2 separate regions of the Homo sapiens genome follow, and region 1 is linked to region 2. The links are contacts of gene promoters, found by promoter capture Hi-C in blood cells and fetal thymus (Javierre and others, 2016). All regions are on one chromosome and are shown on one strand. The core of a region is centred on a gene start or on the middle of the fragment in contact, and the rest is flanking DNA. Distances in the headings are between cores, read along the strand shown. Region 1 has its middle 6.0 kb from the start of ROBO3. Region 2 holds the start of NRGN (neurogranin).

Evidence for each region. Contacts are between HindIII fragments. The CHiCAGO score rates a contact against its expected background, and 5 or more counts as called.
Region 1: a contact is called between a fragment that was not itself captured here and the fragment with the promoter of NRGN in region 2, in 2 of 17 cell types (naive CD8 T cells and naive CD4 T cells). The highest score is 6.0, in naive CD8 T cells.

The regions. Positions count from the first base shown.
Region 1 is chr11:124,856,091-124,862,746 of GRCh38, reverse strand. No RefSeq gene overlaps it. Among named protein-coding and RNA genes, the nearest start is that of ROBO3, 6.0 kb to the left of the region's middle. The HindIII fragment of the contact is 1,449 bases long and covers 1,653-3,101 here.
Region 2 is chr11:124,735,152-124,742,349 of GRCh38, reverse strand. It overlaps NRGN (neurogranin), which reads right to left and starts at 2,408. Exons shown (of 4, transcript NM_006176.3): 1 at 2,251-2,408. The coding sequence starts at 2,265. RefSeq lists silencers at 2,270-2,589, 2,650-2,709. The HindIII fragment of the contact is 6,441 bases long and covers 1-5,090 here.

The DNA.
Region 1 (6,656 bases), core at 1,128-3,627, 120 kb before region 2:
CCCATAGGCAGTTCTGAAAGGGGTTTGCCTCCTACTAGTCTCCTCACTGCCTGCTCTGCTCTCTGAAAATTACCAAGACAACTCTTTGTCCTTTTTCTGGAGTGGGTATGCAACTCTTTGCAACTATGTCCATTTCCTAATTTGTCAACTGTAAGTGCCTGTACAGCACCTAAAACACTGAGTAGATGCCCTGCAATTGGAGGAGCCTCAGCCGGGGTGCATTCATTCTGTTGACTTATAAATTTCCACCTTGGGCTGGAGAAAGAGTCAGAGTTGGGTTTAGAGACCCTCTCTTCTACCACCTCAGGAAACTACTTCTTTCCCAGAGTTTTACCAACAATATGTACAGTCCAGACTTTAGAAAGGGTAAGAAAAAGAAACAGAGGTTTTGAAGGAGATTTGGCAGAAAGAAGAGAGAGTAGCAGGAAGCAGGGAGGTTGGGGCGAGTTGAATTTGTAGAGTTAGGAGCTAAGTTTGTTCTGATAAGGTTACAGCATCTGATGGGAAGAAGTGTGTGTGTGTGTGTGTGTTTGCGTGTGTGTGCATGTGTGGGTTCACAGGTAGAGCCCTAGAAAAGAGCCCTGGGCCAGGAGTTGATGAGGTAATATAGAAGAGGAATATTTCTTTCCTATGGTGGTATTTTGGGTGGGTGGATTTGCAGAGGAACATGGGAAATGGGAAGGGCAAGTGATTATGAGTAAGGCAGGAACCCTACACAAGAGTGGTGTTTTGGGAATCATGAGCCTCTAAAGGAACTCTCCATCCCACCCCCCACTGGTGTGTGAGTGTGTGTGTGTGTGTTCACGTGCTAGGGGAGAGAACAGCTACCCCAGGCTAACTTTCTTGGCCTAGTGCCAGCATATCGGCCAGAGAATGTGGCTGGGAATTTTCAGTGGCCAAGCTGGGGCCATATGGGGAGGCTTCTTGGTGGTCTAAAGCCTGCATGCCGGCTGGTAGTGGATGAAGCTGCTGGCATGTAATTGCCCAGGAGTGCAGTCTGAAGACAACCCCCCATTACTACCACTGCCTCCCCCCAATGTACACACACACTGTCCGGTCCATTTGCATCCCCCCAGAGCCTGTAGCCTGCCATCACTCTCTGCCTGGACCCCTTCCCAGGACATTAATACATATTGAGTGTGAGATTGTGTGTGTGTGTGTGTGTGTGTGTGTGTGTGTGTGTTTGCTGGGAGGGGGACAAAGAAATAACATCTGCCCCTTACCCCCACTAGGGTATGCCTGTGAATGGCCCAGCAGGGCTGCTGGCTTCAGAGTGATGATGCCAGGGGGCAGCGACCCAGCCAGCAGGGGCCAGAGAACCAAACAGGAGGGGGAATCAGAGAGCAAAGAGCAGGCACCCAGCTGGAAAGCAGACAGCAGGAGCCTGCCCCCGGCAGGAGCCAGAGTGTGTTGGCTCAACCCCTATAGCTGCTGAGATAATAAGCCAAGGCCCCCTGCATGAAAGTCCCCCTTTCCCCACAGGGTTCCAGTGGAGGAGACTGTGGGGAGACACTTTGCAACACACTCTACCAAGACTGGAAATCTGGAGACAACTGGGCAGAAATGTTCACATCCCAATACAGATAAAACAAAGTCCAGGGAGAAAAAGAGCTTTCTTGGTTCTTTTTATAAAACTAGATACAGAGCAAGCTTCCATAAATATACACTTGGTGACTATACCTGATTAAATAGTTAGTCCTCACAACTACCCCTGCAGAGCCCACTAGCCTTCTCTCTCTCTCCTTTTGCATTACAGCTGCTGTAAGAAAGTACCAAAAACTAGGTGGCCTAAAACAACAGAAATGTATCCTCTCACAGGTTAGAAGCCTGAAATCAAGGTGTCAGCTGGGCCATGCTCTCCCTGAAGGCTCCAGGGAGGGATCTGTTCTTGCCTCCTCCAGCATCTGCTGATTACCAGCAGTGCTTGGCCTTCCTGGTCTTGAGGATTCATCACTCCATCTCTGCCTCTGTCTTCTTATGGCCTTCCCTGGGTGTGTGTCTCGGTGTCTCTTACCTCTTCTTATAAGGCCACCAGTCATTGGATTAGAGTCCAATTTAATCCAGCATGACTTCACCCTAACTAATTACATCTGCAAAAACCCTCATTTTCAAATGAAGTCACATTCTGAAGTTTTGGGTGAGTAGGACTTTTTTAGGGGGGACAACACATTTAACTTAGTATACCTTATTTTCCTGTATTTCCTTCCTCTTCTGCTCTCTCCATATTCCTGATACTCCCCCAGGGCCCTATTATTTGAGTTTTTAAAATATTCTTGTAATGATAATCATAATGCATGTTCAGGCAAACATATTCAAGCAGTATAAGAAAGTGTAAGATGAAAAGTCTAAGTCCTCACTCCATCAAGTCCTTCTTTATCCTACAGATCCAGTTGCCTGGGTAGCTACCCGTGGTTTCTTGTGTGTCCTTTCTGATTCTTTTTAAAAAGCATATATAAGCATATGTATCTCTATTCCTTTTATTTTATTTATTAATATATTTTTTGAGACAAGGTCTCACTCCGTCACCCAGGCTGGAGTGCAGTGGCACAATCTCCACTAACTGCAACCTCCACTTCCCAGGTGCAAGCGATCCTCCCACCTCAGCCTCCCGAATAGCTGGCACCATAGGCGTGCACCACCACACCCGGCTAATTTTTTTAAAATTTTTTTGGTAGACACGGGGTTTTGCCATGTTGCCCAGGCTGGTCTTGAGCTCCTCAGCTCAGACAATCCACCTGCCTTGGCCTCCCAAAGTGCTGAAATTATAGGCACGAGCCACTGTGCCCATCCTCTCTATTCTTTTAAAGTACAAATTAGCCAGGCATAGTGGCACAGGCTTGTAGTTCCAGCTACTTGAGAGGCTGAGGCAGGAGAATCACTTAAGCCCAGGAGTTCAGGACCAGCCTGGGCAACACAGTGAGACCTTTGTCTCAGATTATTTGTACTGTTCTGCAACTTGCCTTTTTTAACCCATCGATATTTTTAGGGCATCTCTTTCTATCAGTTCATGTATCTCCATCTTTTTTACTTTACTGGCTGGCTAATATTCCATTGCATAGGTTTATTGTACATTTGTAATCAGTCCCCTATTTATGGAAGCTTAGGTTGTTTCTGGCTTTTTGTTTTACAAACAATGCTACTAATAAACATACTACACCTATATCTTTACACACATCTCTAGCTGTAGAATAAATTGTAAAAAGTGAAATTATAGAGGCAAATAATAACTAACAACAGCTAATGTTTATTGAGTGGTTTTATTAATTTCTTCATTCAGCAGATGTTCACCAGGTACCCACTGTGGGCCAGACATAGTTCTGGATGTGCAAGCTACCAGGAATGAGAAAAATCTGAGCACTTTGCAGGCATAATCTCATGTAATGCTCATAGGAACGCTGCGAGGTGGGTACTATTATTTCCAGTTTTCAGATAAGAAAATTATGCCTAAGAAAGCACAGCAAGTAAAGTAACTTTACTTAAGTAACTGCTTAAAGTTACATAGCAAGAAGTATGTGCATTTATATATATATATATACATTTTTTTTTGAGGTGGAGTCTCACTCTGTTGCCCAGGCTGCAGTGGCTCAATCTCGACTGACTGCAACCTCTGCCTCCCAGATTCAGGCGATTCTTCTGCTTCAGCCTTTTGAGCAGCTGGGATTACAGGAGTATGCCCTGATGCCCGGCTAATTTTTGTATTTTTAGTAGAGATGGTATTTCACCATGTTGGCCAGGCTGGTCTCAAACTCCTGACCTCAAGTGATCCGCCTCCCTTGGCCTCCCAAAGTGCTGGGATTACAGGCATGAGCCACCGAGCCCGGCCGCATTTAAATTTTCATATATATCATCAAATTGCCCTTCAAATGGTGCCACAATTGACAGTCCCACAGCAGTGTATGAGAGTCTCTGTCTGCTCACCATGACCAAATATTATGTTTTTATTTTTTACAATTAAATAAATGAAATATGTATTTAATTACTGTAACATATATAGTTAATTCTGAGTGAACTTGAGAACATTTTCATCTGTTTAATGGCCACTTACACATTTTTTCCACGATTTGCTCTCTTGTGTCACTGGGGAAAATTTATTATTTGTCTCATGTGTATATGTTGAAAATTCCCCTCAGTTTGTCATATAATTTTTGACTGAAAAATATTTTACCAGATTTTAGAAAACAAAGTCAAATGTATTAATGTATTTCAATATAGCTTTTCAGTTTGTTTCATGCTTAGACTTTCCTTATGCTAAGATTACAAAAATAGAATCTTTACTTTCTTCTAATAATTTCTAAGCTTTGATATTTTGCATACAGATCTTGGATGCATTTAGAATTTATTCTGGTATGAAGAGTAAGGTAAAAATATAGTTGTTTCTTAGATAAGCAGTTGTCCCTGATTCCTTCACTGATCTGCAGAACCACTTCTCCTATATGCTGAATTCCTATTCATATTCCTAAATGTGAATAGGAATCTGTTCTGTTAGTTCATCTGCATGTTATTCCCCGTGACTGTACTTAACTGTTCAATTATTATAGCTCTGTAACATAGTTTACTATCTGATAGTTTCCCTTCATTACTCTTAATGTTTAGATGTTCTTTGGCTAGTCTTATTTTTTTTTCAGATGTCCTTAATTATTTTTCTATTAAGCTTTAGGTCCTTTGAGCTGGAGCTGCAAGGTAAAATTTTAATAATAATAATAATAAGCAAAGCTATAGGAAATATATATATATATAAAAAATATGTATATATATATATATATATATATATATATATTTTTTTTTTTTTTTTTTTTTTTTTTGAGACAGAGTCTTGCTCTGTCACCAGGCTGGAGTGCAGTGGCCCAATCTTGGCTCACTGCAAATTCCACCTCCCGGGCTCAAGCAATTCTCCTGCCTCAGCCTCCCGAGTAGCTGGGATTATAGGTGCCTGCCATGACAGCCGGCTAATTTTTGTATTTTTAGTAGACACAGAGTTTCACCATGTTGGCTGGGCTGGTCTCAAACTTCCAACCTCAGGTGATTCTCCCACCTTGGTCTCCCAAAATGCTGGAATTACAGGCATGAGCCACCATGCTGGCCTATTTTTGATATTTTTATTGAGTTACATTGAATTCACAGATTAAGAAATTTGACATGTTTACAATATTGATTCTTTCTTTCAAGAACAAATTATAGGCTGGGCATTGTGGCTCACACCTGTAATCCTAACACTTTGGGAGGTCGAGGCGGGCAGATCACGAGGTCAGGAGTTCGAGACCAGCCAGGCCAGCATGGTGAAATCCCGTCTCTACTAAAAATACAAAAAATTAGCTGGGCATGGTGGCGCATGCTTGTAATCCCAGCTACTCGGGAGGCTGAGGCAGGAGAATCGCTTGAACCCAGGAGGCAAAGGTTGCAGTGAGCCAAGATCGCCCCCACTGAACTGAAGCCTGGGCAACAGAGAGAGACTCAGTCTCAAAAATAAATAAATAAATAAAAGAACAAGTTGCTGGGCGCAGTGGCTCACGCCTGTAACCCCAGCACTTTGGGAGGCTGAGGCGGGTGGATCACGAGGTTAGGAGATCGACACCATCCTGGGCCATCACGGTGAAACCCCATCTCTACTAAAAATACAAAAAATAAGCCAGGCATGGTGGCGGGCACCTGTAGTCCCCGCTACTCCGGAGGCTGAGGCTGGAGAATGGCGTGAACCCGGGAGGCGGAGTTTGCAGTGAGCCGACATCGCGCCACTGCACTCTAGACTGGGCAACAGAGAGACACTCCGTCTCAATAAAAAAAAAAAAAAAAAAAAAAAAAAAAAAAAAAGTTATTTGTTGAACATCTACTCTGTACCAAGCACTCTTTTAAGGCGCTGGGAATACATCAGTTATCAAAATAAACAAAAATTCCCTCATAGAGCTTACATTCTAATGGTGCTATAATTTAGCAGGCAATAATAAAGATAAACAACTTAAATATATAATAAGTTAAATTGTGATGAGAAGTATATGGTAGTGGCACGAGAAACTAACATTGAAATGGGGTTCCCAGAAGAGGCCTCATTGAAAAAATGACATTTGAATAAAGCCTTTAAGGAAGTGAGAGAATTAGCCACGTGGCTACCTTAAGAAAGAGTTGTCCCAGATAGATGAAATAGCCAACGCAAAGGCCCTGAGACAGGAGCATAACAAGTGAGTTGAAGGAAAAAAAAAACAGGTGGAGTAGGGTGAATAAGAGAGACATCAAGACTGGGGTAATTACGTAGGACCTTGTATGACATAATAATAACTCTAGCTTATTTTGGGTGAGATGGGATTCCGTGGAGGGAGATTTGAGTGGAACAGTGACATAACTTCACTTATTTTAATAGAGTTTCTCTGGCTGCTGTGCTAAGAACAGACTGAAGAGAAACCTGAAGGGAGGAAGCAGGGGAAGCAGCTGGGAAGCTTTGGCAAGCTTTTGCAATACACACGTAAGTGATGGTGGTGTTTCAGATCAGGGTGGCACCTGTAGAAATGAGAAGTACCTGGATTCTGGATATATTTTGAAAATAGAATTGACAAAATTTTAGTGAGATGGAGAAAGCTAAAGGCGTTGTAGATTCAATGGGTAATATTAGGAACTCGGTTGGGGACATGTTAAGTTAGAGATGTCTGAAGTTCCAGGGAGTAGTC
Region 2 (7,198 bases), core at 1,159-3,658:
ACTAGATTCTTCCCAAACACCAGGTGATGCGGTCAGTGAGGAGAGCTCCAGAATCAAAAGATGAAGAAGGACCTGCCTCTAGCCCCCAAGAGGTATGCTGTTCTTCCCACACATCTCAGCTCTCTCCCAGCACTGAGTCCAGCCCTCCACAGAAAGGGGAGGAAAATGCCCACCCCTAGCCCTGCCCTTCCCCAACCCTCCACACATCACTCCTTCTTCTTCCTGCCCTCCTGCACAGTCTGATAATGGTGCTCTCTCTTGCTCAGCCCTTTAGCCCTGCAGACCTAGGACAGGGCATGACTTGGGAAGGCTCCTGTGCACAGGGTGCACTGGAGGAGGTGCCCCAGGCCCTGGGCCATGGAGATAATTGTGTATCTGCTTCTCTTTTACCTTTTGGGTGGGTAGCCTCTCCTTTTTTAAGGGACACTGACTTCAACCATGTCTACTAATCCCTCAGTATGGCTCCCTGGGCACTCAAGAGCAACAGTTCCAGGCAGGGACCCCCACATCCTACTCTAATTACTACTGCAGACACAGAGGAGACCAATTCCATTCCTTCCCTGGCCTCTTGGATTCTTTGTTTACTCACCTCTTTCCAGTGACCACGTCTCCCACTTCCCCTTCCCCAGCAATACTCCCCTGTCATCCTCACCTCTCCCCTCCCCCCAGCTCATTTCCCAGAACCCACCATCCATTTATCTTCTCTACTTTATACAACACTGCTGGGAGGAAGGGCTCTTCCTCAGTGGAGCCCAGGAACCTCCATGAGGAGCCCATTTCTCCCTTCACAACCAAAAAATTGCTTCCTGTAGAATAACAAGCAGAGGGAAAAGGCTGGAAGGAGATATGTTATCGGGGTGTTCTCCAGGGGGTGGGACTGTAGGTGACTGACATGTTTGTTTTTCATACTTTTCTCTAGGTTTTACGTTTTCTATTATGAGCAGATTACTTTTATAATCAGTAAATATTTAGAGGAGAGGTTAAACCACAGCTCTTCGAAGAAGACAGGGCTATGTTTGAATCCTGCCTCCACAGTTAGGAGTCATGCTTCCTTGGAAAAATCTAACTTTCTAAACCTCAGTTGGCACATCTGTGAAATAATACCTACTTCACAGGGTTGTTGCTATGATTAAATATAAAGTGCTGGCTACAGGGCAGGCATTCACAAACTGGCAACTATTACTTAAACTAATAAGAGTTAAAATCGCAACCACCACCACTTGCCCCTAAGTGTTCTCTGCCTCTTGGTACCCAGACATGGGAAAGTCTCACCTATTATAGAACTGGGCTATCCTTCCCTTCCAAAGCCCACTTTTTTTTTCTTTACTATGCCATAAGGTGGCAAAGTCAGTAACCTCGTGTATCATTAGCTGGTTGACTGAATGACTGAAAATACAAGGACTTTGGAATAGTCTTTCTCCAAGTGCAGAGGCAAAAAATAAATAAGCAAACAAATAAATTTCATATACGTATGATCACTGTACTCTTCCAGTGAGGCAGGAGCCAGGGCCTATGCCAGGCGCTTTCATACCGAGTCACCTTTACAGCAAACCCCTCGGGCGCTGGGCACTTGCAGTACCCAGGTTTCCGCGTGGGCGCTGACAAATTGCAGACACTTCCTTTCCTCGCCAGCAGGGCTCTCTCGCGGTCACTTCACCCAGCCCCTTCCGAGCGAGAAGGCCTTGGGGGCCGGGACAACCCCTCCCCAGAACCACCCTGACTAGGCTCTTTGCAGCCAGCATCACTACCGAGCTAACCAATATGGACCAGCCTGCGCTGCACAGGGCGCTTAGGCGATCGTTGGAGGGTCATGAGGATCAGCCTGTCCGCCCACCGACGGCGGCGCAGTGGGATGGGGAACGGGGTGGGGGCCGAAAGACGGGAGGAAGGAGTCGCTGCAGTGTCTCCAGGCGATGGTTGCCAGCGTCTCACTGGGGAGGAAGTTCCTCCTGTCATCCAACCCGCAGTTCCCCTCTTGCAGAGCCCTGCCGAGCTCCCAGTCCAGCCTAGGCTGTCTAACGGATGGGCGCTCAGACGCCCCCGCGAGTTGAGGAGCATTTTTCCTAGGGCTTCCAAGTCGGGCGGGCGCCTTCCACCATCCACCACCCACGTCTCGGCAAGGACCCCTTTTCTTTCTGCTCCTAGGTCTTCCGCATCCACTTCCATCCCTCTCTCGCCCTCCAGGGCTTTCTCAGGCGCCTCTCGCAGCGGACCCCGCCAAGTGCCCCTCCCCCGGGCCCTCTAACTTACGGTGCAGCAGTCCATGCTGGTGTCGGGGGGTCCTCTGCGGGGACGAAGGCTGGCGCAGGGCGGGGGTGGGGTCTGTGTGGTGCCGGGTGGGGGCTCTGGGGCAGTCGGCCGCCAGCCGACCCGCGCCGAAACAGCAGCTCTGCTCTCGGGTCCGGTCTCCCGCGCTCGGCTCCGCTCGCGAATGTAACCTGAGCCCCGCGGCCGGGAAGCCAATCAGGAGCAGCCTCCGGCAGGGTGGGCGGGGAGAAGTGGAGGGAGGGCCACGCCCTCTCGCGGCTCTCTGCGCCGCGCTCCCGCTCCTGCCCCAGCCCCTCCGCCTACACGCTTGTATCCAAGCCTCCTACACACTCCATCCTCCCGGGCGCAATCCCCTGGCTTGCTAGGCGGCAGACTGCCAGGCAGATGTACGCCGGAGTAGGCAGAAGGAGGCCCCCGACACCCCGAGCACAAACACCCACATCTGGGCACAGCACCTACTCCCGCTCAGAGAAAACCACGCACCCCTCACCCATCCCTCCATACTTCCACAACCTAGCAGGAGTCCCAAATATGGCTCCCTTTCACTTCACTCCCCCTCAGTCCGCAAAGAAAGGCTCCCTAACGGGCGGTAAAAAGGTCTCATCATCACTCCTGCTACAGACGGAGAAACCTGTTGGTACAACCTGGCGATGGGCATGCGTCCACACAAAAGCTCACAAGCCCCACATGTCCACATATGATTTTCCCAGGCCTTCTTCCAGCATACAGACACTGCAGATACAACCTGCAAAAATAACTACGCAGCCCTTCAGTTGCAGGTAAATGCGGACACCCTGTTGCGGGCGCCCGCGCGCTCACGCACGCACACGGACAGTCACCCAACTCAAGCTGTCGGCATGACGTATCTATTATCGATCTGTCTACATGAGCTGCAACAAACAACATCATATATGCACAACACCTATTTTGTATGTATTTATATATGGGCACAGACTTGGAAGAAGTATCCTCCTCCCTTTCATACCAGACTCTGCCTAACCTTTTGATCTGCTGCCTCAGAATAAGACAAAAGCTGGCCATCCTCGCCCTTGCTCCTGAGAAGAAGAAAAATACCCTAAACCCAAGTGTAGAGAATTCGAAGTAATTGGCTCTTGGGTCCATGATGAGGCAGGATGTGGGCTTCGTGAGAGGCTGGGAAGGGGAGCTATGGAAAGAGCATCTGGGAGGGACAGACTGCCACTGTTGTGGTCGTCAGCCTCCCCCAACTCGGCAGGGTACAAAAGCTGGCAGTGTGGCTTGTTATGTGGGTAGGGTAGGCCTTCTCTGAGAAAACTAGAAAGTCTTCTCAGCTAAGGTCCCAGAGAAGGGAAGGAGGAAAGGATGGCTCCTGCTGGGAGCAAAGGTGGGAAATGCCCTGTGGCTCTGGTTGGGACAGCAGATCCTGAGACAGCTCTGCTGTGCATCCCCAGTCCCTGGCCATGACCAGGGACCACGTGGCGGTGACATGCTTCCTTTCCACCTAGATGTTTGGGCCCGAGGCTCTGCTTGCCAAAGGAAAAATGAGTGGGAGAGAAATGCCTGAGTCCATTCAGGGTGGGGATAAGGTTAGCCAGCTTGGGGTCCCAGGCTGAGCTGGATGCTGGCCGGGATTCCAGGGCTTGGGGTGTAGGGGTGTCTCTCCCAGCATGTTTGGGACCCACCCACTTTTGTAAAAAAAAATCTGTTCCCCAATCTGTCTCTGGCACATCTTTCATCTCCCCACCTCCTCCAAGTGGCCAGATGTCCTGGGAACTCAGGCCCTTGCCTAAATGACACGCACATCTGTGGCCTTCTGTTGTGCCAATTCCTGCTGGACTTCAACTCCAGAATCCAGAGAGGAGAGGAAAGGGGGAAATTGGGGGACAGAGTGGATACCAGGCCTAGACTCTGTGCTTTTCTCTTCCCAAATTAGAGCTGAGGAATTCGGGATTTGGTGAGTTTGCAGTCAAGTCTCCCAAGTTGCTAGGCAACATCCCTCTGCAGACTGCGCTGCCTCTGGGCCCTTCTTCCTGCTGGTCAGAACTGAAGGGGGGGTATCTTTACAACACCCCCCCCACCAACTCCCACACAGGCAGCACAGCCCTTCCCTCTTCCTGAAGGACACCTTTGTGTGGGGTGAGGGTGTCTCTGAACACTGGAGGGCCCATAGGAGAACAGATACGGCAACTGTCAGTTCCATCCGCAAAGCAACCATTTCAGCAACAGCCCACTCAAGGCGCCTACGCAGAACTGGCCACAGTGCTGGCCCTGGGGGATGGGCAGGCTCTGAGGTGAGGAAAAGACAGAGAGGAAGGCAGAGCCTGAGATGAGAAGACAGACACTCACAAACTCAAATACCAGTGGCAGGAGCAGTAACACATATGGCCTCATAGAAATTACACACACAGACCCAAAGATGCAGACACACACACTGCCCACACACCCAGAGACACACACCCTGCACGGGTTGTCACCCACTGACATCCAAAGACATGCTCAGCGTGGGCCCCTTAACCACTGTGGGGCCAAGGCACCCACTAGCGCTGGGGAAAGGTCCCTCTTCTGAGCCTCTAGGTGGCTGGGGTTTGTCAGCAAGGTGGGCTGGTGGGACTCAGCCTGTGATACTCAAATAGGTGAGCTAGGACAAAGGACAGATGCAGTAAGGGATGGCTGGGTCTGCCTCTGCAGGCTCTGGTCTTTGGCAGAATGATGCCAAGTTATACTCCCCATGGTAACCTGCCTGGCCTAGGGCCTGGGTGCCACCGGTCAACATTTGGAGTATGACCTACTGTCCAGATGGGCTTGGACTCGTAGTTGTTCTTGACTTTTCAAATTTTAAAGCTTCTCATCTACAGTCTCCAGCCCCCATAGCTACTGAAGGAAAACTGCTGGCCTGGAAAGGAGATGAGCTCTGGAAGGGAATGGCCAGGTTAGGGAGGCAACTGGGGCATGTTGGTGGGTGCCGTGGGATGGAGCCAGCAGGAAGCATGGAGATGACAGGGGTGAGGAATAGAAGCCAAGGCAGGTGAGGGATAGACAAAAGAGAGGATAAAAGATGGATTAGTGGGAAGCTCCTGTGGTCCAATACAGATTCTTCTTGGGACAGATGGAAGGGGATTTGGAGAGGGTTGGTCCTAGTAAGCAGGCAGAAAAGCCAAGGCACGTGACAATCTATTTCCCAATAACTTGTGGCTTCCCCTTCTCGGAGTGGGCACCTTCTGAACTTCACATCCTGGCTCAAGCCCGTGGAGGGACCCATAATCAGAAGGGGGCTAGAAAGTATGAGGCCTGTGTCTTTGGTGGAGCTGATCTGGGGGCTTCTTAGGTCAGGATTTTACCCATTTGAGTGGAGGGGGTGGAGGTAGCAGGAAATTCAGTTTTCTCTGCAAATATTTCAGCTTTTGCTGTTGTAGTATTTTTAGCAACCTGGTTGGCAGAGGAGGAGCCCGGGTACATTTTTAAAGGGGCCTCTGCCAGGCTGGAGGCCTCTTCCCACCCTCACCCCACATGTCAGGAAGGAGAGGGGGAGAAAGCACATGGCTTAAGGGGTCCATTCAAAGGTAGAAATCAGGTTTGCTGGACATTAGGTGACCGTTGAGTCATTTTCACCAGTAGTCATTTTGTTCTGTCATTGTCAGCATCATGATTGTTACCAGCATTATCAAGAGGAGTAAATATTTCTTGAACTTCTGCTATGTTCAGGGTGCTGCTAGAGAGGCAATACGGAAGGCTCGGTATAATATATTTGCTAAGATGGGGAAATAACCAATATTCTAGAGTGAGTTCTAGGCTAAATCTGAATAGCACTTTACAAAGTGCTACCACATCCATTATTTAAAGTGGTGCTCTCGAGAACAGTGTGAGGAGGTATTACTCTTTCTTTCTTTCTTTCTTTCTTTTTCTTTCTTTCTTTTTGAGACAGAGTCACACTCTGTCACCCAGGTTGGAGTGCAGTGGCACAATCTTAAGCAACCTCCACCTCCCAGGTTCAAGCGATTCTCCTGCCTCAGCCTCCTGAGTAGCTGGGATTACAGATGCTCACCACCATGTCAGGCTAATTTTTTTGTATTTTTAGTAGAGACAGGGTTTTGTCATGTTTGCCAGGTTGGTCTCGAACTCCTGGCCTCAAGTGATCTGCCTGCCTCAGCCTCCCAAAGTGCTGAGATTACAGGCATAAGCCACCGTGCCCAGCCTAGGAGGTATTGTTATTTCTAACCTCTTTTTCTGAGGAGGAAACTGAGGCTGGGAGAGGTTAAGTGACTTGCTATTTGTCCAGCATTAGATCTCTGAGGAAATGCAGAACTAGGACTAAAACCCAGGAGTTCTGACTTTGAATTCTGCATTTCTCCTGTACAGTGCTCCTAGCGTAAGCTAAGCAAATCAGACATAATCTCTTTTCTCTTGGATGTTGTAATCCGATGGAAAAAGTACATATATGTGCGTGTATAAAATAATGAATGATAGATACGAAAGGAATTAAGCAGACAGTAAATGTTCTGGGAGTTGAGGTGTGGAAGAAATGACTGAGAATTTGGATGGTCAAGGAAGCCTCCCTGGATGATGGTTTGAAGCAAGCATGAATCCAAAAGTATCTGAGACATGTATCAATCAATTTGGAGAGTTCATTTTGCCAAGGTTAAGGATGCACCTGTTGACACATCTTCAAGAGGTCCAGATGACATGTGCCCAAGGTAGTTGGGTATAAGCTTGCTTTACAAGTTTGTGCAAGGGGTACAGTTTGCTTTTATGCTTTTTAGGGAGACATAATACATCAATCAATACTTGCAAGATGTACCTTGGTTTGATCTGGAAAGGTGGGATAACTTGAAGCTGTGGTGGAGGGTGGTGGCTTCCAGGTTATAGGTAGATTTAAAATTTTTCTGATTGGCAATCAGTTAAAGGAGTTATTATCTAAAGACCTGGAATCAATAGAAAGGAAATGTCTGGCTTA